2 separate regions of the Homo sapiens genome follow, and region 2 is linked to region 1. The links are contacts of gene promoters, found by promoter capture Hi-C in blood cells and fetal thymus (Javierre and others, 2016). All regions are on one chromosome and are shown on one strand. Each heading gives the region's core, a stretch centred on a gene start or on the middle of the fragment in contact. The rest is flanking DNA. Distances are from core to core; before and after follow the strand shown.

Region 1 (4,010 bases), core at 1,047-3,546:
ATTTATTCACAGATTTTATTTAACTGGTTTATTTCAAAGAGCATGTGTGTGCTCCATATACAAGTTTTACAACAACTTTTTTAATTTAGCCTTCCTTTCCCTGCTGGTTCAGGCCCACACCTGTTTCTAGCATTAACGTGTGAAGCCATTTCTTCCCACATACCCACATTTTCCCTTACACGTGCCTGCTAGCTAGCTACTGAGGACGTTCACCCTTACAAGTCTTTTTTGCTGACTCTGAAAAAGAACAGGCCCAAATCGTGCAACATGAGTTTCACGGCACTCATTTGGGTTTTTCCAGATGGTATTTTCCTCGCTCTCTCAAACTGATTTAATGTTATGTATCAGCTACCATCAGAAATGTTCCAAACAGTCCGGTTAATTTATTTCTTTCAGGATTCCACACACACACTCATTCCCTCATTCTGGCCGTGTAAGCATTTGCTTATAGAAGCAAAAGCAGAGACTGCCCAGTAAAACACTGGTCCCTTCAGCCGAATGCAGATAAAGCCCTGATGAGCATAACCAACAATACCCTTCACACAATATTACTCAAAACCCCCAGCCCCCAACACACACAATCTATGCTCACACACAAAACAGCCATTATGAGGAAAAACCACCAACTAAAGGCTGGTTTTATACGTCCAACTGCTTAGGCGGTTTCCTTCCAATCTGCCGTGAAGCATCTACAAAGAGTCTTCAGCAATGGCAGTCAGTAGGACCGCTGTTCCCAGATTTTCTTCCCCAACTTGGATAAAGAGTCCTGCCACAGCCCTGAAGGAAATAAACCTGGCTGCACTTTCCACTAGAAAAAGAACCAGCCCAGTGCTCGCCAGAGGCCAAGATTACACCACTTGGCTCCCCGTTCAGTTGCCCTTCTCCACTCACCCTCATTTCAAGACCCTCTCCCACTCTGCCAGCCAGGCCCATTCACCCAGGCCCCATCCACAGCGAAGGGCAAGGCAGGAAGTTACAGCCGAGTGCAGAAGCCCTGCTGGATGCTTCCAATGATAGCCTTATCCTAGCTCACAGCTTAGAGGGGTGGAAATAAACCCTTCTCAGCTATTCCAGCCTCCATTGACCATGTCCCTTTTAGGAAACATTGTAAACGAGAAGTACGAGGCGTCCAGAGTGGCTGCCGGACAGAGAGAACGGAAGACACCCAATCCATTTCGACAGACAAGTGGGAATGGAGGCAGCAAAAAGGGTGGCTCAAGGGAAGTGGGCACTAGAGGGGATGGGGCATCAGAGCAGTGGATGTCTTCACTCCTCGTCTAAAAAGTTTCTGAAGTCCCCAGCGAATTAAACACGTGTCTCTGCCAAGCGGGGTACACTCCCAGTAACCCCCAAGACCAAGGCTCATTTCCCCTCTGCAGGTAAGGCCTGGATTTGAATGGGACTCTATTTCCAGAGAGTTTAACTTGAACAAGGGGACACGCCCACCGCTGCCCTGGCCCCTCCCGCGCCCGCTAGCAGCGGTCTGGAGGTGAGAGGCGGAGCCCAGAGAAACCTCACCTGCAGGAGCCCAGAGGCTAGTTTCCCCACAGAGACCGGACTCCCAAGAGGTGACTCCAAGCGAACTAATTGCTTCCCTCCAATGTCGCATCTCAGTCCACCCAAAGCTCTCCCTCTCCGAGCCCTCAACCCGCTGGGATCTTCAGAAAGGGGGTTCACTAGAACTCTTTCTCCCCCATCCCACCGGGACAGCGTCCCGGCCCGGCGCTCCTCCTCCCCCACATCGCGCCAGGTCGCTCCCCAGCCCCCAATCAGTCTCAGCAGCTGGCATCCTCGGCCGAGGGTCCCCGCGCCTGGACGCTTCGTCCCCGGCGACCCGCCGCGCCCCCGCGAAGTGCGCTCCATCCGAGCTTCCTAAAGGCGCACTTGGGCCGGGCAGGCGCGGCCCCCAACTGCGAGGGGCAGTTCGCCCTCTGCTCCGGGGCAAGGGCACTGGGTCCTTGTCCCAGAGCTCCCGCGACCCGCTCTCCTCGCCCCAGAGTGGCAGACGCAGTGCCCCCCAGCCGCCCGGTGCGCCTCTGCCCAGCTGTCACCACTCACCTGCTCTTCAGCGGTTGACTTTTGAGTTCGTAATAGGTTTTGGGCTCTTCATGAAACTCCTCCCCGACTTCGAAATCCGGCACGATCCCCGATTCGGACTGCATGGCTCCCGCTTCCCGTCCTTCCACTGCTGGAAAGTGAGAACAGAGCCCGGGGGCGGAGGGAAGGTAGCTGGGCCTGGGTCCCCCGAGCCGTGCGCCCCGGCGCAGTGCCGAGCTCTGCCCGCTCGCCGGCTCGCGGCCGCCCGCCCCAGCGCGGGGAGTTTACACTCGCACCCGGGCGGGAGGGGCTGGCGGCCGAGCGCCGCCTGGGATCTGTAGTTCGGCCCGGGCGGGGCATTCCCAGCTCGCCTGGGGAGCCGCTCCCACGAAAACTACAGCTCCCAGAAGGCCAGGCGGGGGAGAGGCAACGTGGTGGACACCGCTAGTGCAACTCCTGTTTGGATTCATTGTCAATGTCAGCAGCTCCTCTCCCTCCTCTCTCCCCACTTGCTTCAAGGGTACAGACTTGGCTACTTAATATGAATAAGAATGGACACTGACTGCTCTTCTACCATCGCCCCGACCTCTCAGCTCAGACATCTGCGAGGGCACGCCAAGTGCTTATTTTAAAAATAAAATAGTCAAGGGTTTTGGCACAAGAAAGTTTTAGCATTCGAGCCTGTCTTAAAATAAAAGGACTTCCTATCAGCTCGCATGCTTCCCTGGGCTGCTGCGACATATCAGCTTGTCCTCGGATTGGAACAACGAGGAAGAACTTTCCTTCGCTCTGTAATGAAAACGTTATTGGAGAAATTGTTCTTGTGCGTTCCTTTTCTAGAACTAAGTCTGGACTTTTACAATAGTATTCATCAGTTGAATGGCTCTTTCCCCTTTATCCAAGTAGCCACTTCTAATCTACAGCAGCAATTGAAAGATTCGGTTAATTTTAAAAGGCACAAAGTTACAAAATAGCGTCGTTGCTCTCTGCTTTTAATTTCTCAGTTGACTGGGAGTTCAAATGAGATTTGTCCTAGCATTTCAGGAGTGAAGATGTACAAGTGAACTGTACAAGTGTCCACCCCTTCCCGAGCTTCCCGGAACTCACTTAGGGAAGAGAATTTTAAAACTCTCCGTTGTGGCTCATTTGTACTTCTAGTTCTTCCCTCTGATTAGCTCCAGTAGGACGTGTTCCTTCTTTTCAAAAGTGTTTTGAGGCATCAGGGAGGCAGTATAGAGTTACAGTGGCATTTAAAGGTATAAGACTCAGAGTTGAAATCCCCAGTCCTTCTAAGAAGAGCTGTGCAATCCTGAGCATGTCACTTGGTTCCTAGAAGCCTCCATTTCTTCATCCATAAAAGAAGAGATTGGCAAACCAGTTTTAGAAGATGTTGCAAGGTCAAATGTAAGAGAAAGTGATTTGCAATCTATAAAAACTCTGCTCAGTGGTCATTCTTTATTAGGTCTTGAAGTTATTCCTTTCAGATTAACATCTCATTTTGGTGTTTGGCCTTTCAGAATTAATAAACTAAATGACTGTCCTAGGAGAAAATTCTAAAGAGGCTACAGTGACAACTGGGCACCTCCCAGGAGTTACCCCTTTGCATATCTTGCCTCCCACTGAAACATTTTAATTTCACATCAGAAAAGACATCCAGTAGGATGGATCGATGTTAGGGCTGGAGTTCTCAAGGTGATTTGGAAAAAGTGCAGAAGGCACACTATGTTGCAGTAGCAATTACCAAATTTTCAGAATAAAAATTAGTCCCCAACATACGACTTTTAGGCCCTCCCCTGAAACTATTAAACTATGTCAGAATACCTGAGAACACCCCTAAGGAAAGTGGGAGTTTTGTGCTCATAAAAGTGGGATCCTAGATTCCTTAATAGATGGACTGCTGGAAATTAGCTGTCAAAAGCAAACAAAGAAAACGTGTTTCCTTCATGTTCTCTGGGAGAGAAAGAAGAAAGATC
Region 2 (4,010 bases), core at 484-2,983, 170 kb before region 1:
TGCTACTTATGCAAATTTCTGAAGCCAGCTTGAATTTCTCCTGAAAAAATGGGTTTTTCTTTTCTACTGCATCATCAGGCTGCAAATTTTCTGAACTTTTATGCTCTGTTTTCCTTTTAAAATGGAATGGTTTTAACAGCACCCAAAGTCACCTTTTGAATACTTTGCTGCTTAGAAATTTCTTCCGCCAGATACCCTAAATCATCTCTGTCAAGTTTCAAAGTTCCACAAATCTCTAGGGCAGGGAAAAATGCTGCCAGTCTATTTGCTAAAACATAACAAGAGTCACCTTTGCTCCAGTTCCCAACAAGTTCCTCATCTCCATCTGAGACCACCTCAGCCTGGGCCTTATTGTTCATATCACTATCAGAATTTTAGTCAAAGCCATTCAACAAGTGTCTTGGAGGTTCCAAACTTTCCCACATTTTTCTGTCTCCTTCCTAGCCCTCCAAACTGTTCCAACCTATGCCTGTTACACAATTCCAAAGTCGCTTCCACATTTTTGGGTATCGTTTCAGCAACACCCCACTCTGCTGGTACCAATTTACTCTATTAGTCCATTTTCACACTGCTGATAAAGACTTACCTGAGACTGGGAGGAAAAAGAGGTTTAATTGGATTTACAGTTCCACATGGCTGGGAAGGCCTCAGAATCATGGCAGGAGGTAAAAGGCACTTATATGGTGGTGGCAAGAGAAAATGAGGAGGAAGCAAAAACAGAAACCCCTGATAAACCCATCAGATCTCGTGAGACTTATCCATTCACTATCATGAGAACCACATGGGAAAGACCAGCCCTCATGATTCAATTACCAACCCCCCGGGTCCTTCCCACAACATGTGGGAATTCTGGGAGACACAATTCAAGTTGAGATTTGGTTGGGGACACAGCCAAGCCGTATCACCATGTCTTTAAAAAACAAACAAACAAAAAAACCTAATAGAACTTAGCAGCTGGTAAAGGAAATCACTATATCCTATAACTATAAGCATCAAAGATATTTTCTAAGGACTTATTTCACATAAATAAAACAAACATAAATAATCTCAACTTAAAAGCAAAACTGATAGGTGCAAAGGAACTAACCTTAATACAAATCTTAAAAGACTGTGTTAGCTCACGTAGGGACAAATATTCTCAGATTGTCACTTATTCCTTTCTTCTAACAAGAACAAAAATCCTAAGTGGAAGAATTACCAGATAAAAGGATATAAAAACCACTGAAGCTTCTGATGCATTTTGCCAAATTTTCTTATGGGAAAGTTGTACCTAATTTCATTATTACCAGTAGTGCTCATTCATCCCACATGTTCATCAAAGGTTGAATGGCAGTGTGGTAAACAAACCACAAATATCAATGTGGTAAAGAAACAAAAAAAAACTTACTATTATTTCCATATGATATTTAAAGAATAATGATTTCATTAAGTTTGTTGAAGTAAAACTATTTTTTGAATTGCCAAATTTAAAAAACTTCTACTCAGTACTTTTTAAAAAATGGGGCTGGTGTACAAAAAGAAAATATTAGTTTGAAAACTCCTGCCAAATAAAGGAGCGATAAATGATGTAGAAGAGTTTTTTTTTTATTGTTTTTGCTTTGTCTTTTTATTTCAATAGACAAAGCAGAAAATGGAAATTATTCTTCACTTTTCAACTGCATTGCAGACCAGGAGAGACATTCCTACACCCAAGGGGAGCACAGCTCCTTCTGGAATGTTTTCTCACTATGTAAAGTGGTACAAAACTGAATCACACCCCTAGAGTTAATTGGGTGGCCCAACCACTTTGAGAACATTTCTGTATCCTTCTGTCTCATGTATCCATCTAGATTCTATAGCAAGATCAAAAGGCAAAAGCCCCATAAGGTTTCCTGCAAAAGAGTTTTAGGGAAAAATAAAACAAAACAAACAACAACAAAAAAAGCTGGATATTTTGGTTTACTTCCCTCATTCTTGAAATGAAACTCTTAAAATAATAAATAAATAATTTCCTCTTCCTTTCAAAAAACCATTTGTAACACTTACTGTTTTTAAGCCTCTTCTGAGTCAACTTTAAGAAACTCTCTTTGAGCCCAGCAGAATATGATTTTCTTGTGTTCACAGAGAAAACTGCTTATTCTCAAGAGCAATTACTGTGTTTTGGAGCTTAGCCCTCATACACTTAAAATGTCCGTGAAGAGGTGACTGGTCTGAGGAAAGCCTCAGACTACTGAAAAAGAGAGCCAATGATCTAAGCTTAGGTAAAGCAGATGGTCTACCCAGACTTAACAGTGCTCAAAATTACCAGGGATAGACAGGTCAGGCCTCCTGCCTGAAATCAAGGGTGATTTCAAATACAAATTTTGGCACCATAATACAGGCCATTAGACCAGGATCTGAGGAGAATACTACCTCCTGCTTATGAAGTGATTTCATCTACATGATCTCAAAGTTGTCCATCATGAGTCTCTCCTCCAGTAGAATATAACTTTCATGAAGAAAGAGTTGTTTGTTCATTTGCTTGTTCTGCTGCAATATCCCTGGCACCTATAACAATGCCTGGTACATAGATATCCAATAGATTTGTGCTGAATTATACAATGAATAACTCGTTCATTTATTTATTCAACCAGTTTGACACACAGAGCCCCATCTCTAAAACCCACATGACTTTTTCATCCAGTGATTCAGAAGAAATCATAGACAGGAAAGTTTTGGACATAGAAAGTAGGAGTTCCAGAGCTCAATGGACGACTTACGTTATATTTCAAGTTTGAATCCCTTTCATTCTTTAGTACCAAAGGTACTGTAGCATAGCGATTAGGAACACAAGATTATGGAGGGAAAGGGGAGAGGATCAAACACTAGCTCTATTACTTCTGGTTGTGTAGCTTTGGGTAACTTGTTAAACCTTTCTTCAGGCAAAACAAGGATTTATGGTGCCTACCTCACATGGACAATGTAAGTACCACATAGGGCAATTTACATAAAGTATTTAGCAGAGTGACCAGCATATATTAAGTAGCCAATTAAAAAAAGCTGCTATTTTTGTTGTAGATGTGTGGTCAAAGAAGCAGAAAGGGAGTGCGTTGACAGCTCCTATTTTCATTCACATCCAACAGTCTATAGGTTGCTAGTCTCCATTCTAGATGCTCTCCATCTGGGCATATTACACAATAAACAAACAAAAACCAAATCATAGTCCTGGACAGATCCTACAATCCACTTCAGAATCTACCAGGGTTTAATTGGCCTTGTGACATGTACTGTGAAGTCACTTCCGAAGTGATAAATAACTACAGGATTAAAGACCATGTAAAATAAGACTTAGAAAATGTTAAAGATTATACAAGTACACTTGCATATAACTCATCCCTCTGCTATTTGGGAAAATTCTGAAATGCTTCAGATAAATCACCTTCAGAGAAAGATAACTAGTAGAATGACAAATCATGGCACTTATTAACCAAAGCAACAAAGCAAAGTTTCAGTTTTACCTCCAATGATTGACATCATATACACAACTATTTACTCATTATATAATATTTTACTACAAAAAACAACAAAAAACAATTTGGAGGTCAGACAATACTTGACTCCAAGACTTACTTGCTACACTAATCAAGAGAGTTTGGTATTGGTGTCAAGGAAGAAAAACAGACCAGGACAGAGATTCTAGAAATAGACCCACACATATAATCAACTGATTTCTGACAAACATACAAAGGCAATGAAAGGGAAAAAGGATAGTTTTTTCAACAAATGATGTTGGAACAATTGGTCATCCATATTTACAAAAAACCCTTCAATTCATGTTTTATAACTTATATAAAAATTAACTCAAAATGAATCATAAAACTTAAAACTATAACATTCTAAAAGAAAACATAGGTAAAATCCTTATGACCTTGGGTTAGGCAAAGAGTTCTTAAATATGACATTAAAAGTATGATTAATTTACAAAACCAATGAACTTGGTTTTATCAAAATTTAAAACTTCTGCTTTTCAAAAGACACTATTAATAGAATGG

What was found. Contacts are between HindIII fragments. The CHiCAGO score rates a contact against its expected background, and 5 or more counts as called.
Region 2: a contact is called between a fragment that was not itself captured here and the fragment with the promoter of MITF in region 1, in 1 of 17 cell types (M2 macrophages). The highest score is 5.3, in M2 macrophages.

What each region holds. Positions count from the first base shown.
Region 1 is chr3:69,737,750-69,741,759 of GRCh38, reverse strand. MITF (melanocyte inducing transcription factor) reads right to left here and starts at 2,296. Exons shown (of 10, transcript NM_001354604.2): 1 at 2,059-2,296. The coding sequence starts at 2,162. RefSeq lists a silencer at 2,061-2,360 and a promoter at 2,160-4,010. The HindIII fragment of the contact is 10,451 bases long and covers 1-4,010 here.
Region 2 is chr3:69,905,932-69,909,941 of GRCh38, reverse strand. All of the region lies in intron 2 of MITF (melanocyte inducing transcription factor), which reads right to left. Among named protein-coding and RNA genes, the nearest start is that of SAMMSON, 92 kb to the left of the region's middle. The HindIII fragment of the contact is 1,008 bases long and covers 1,230-2,237 here.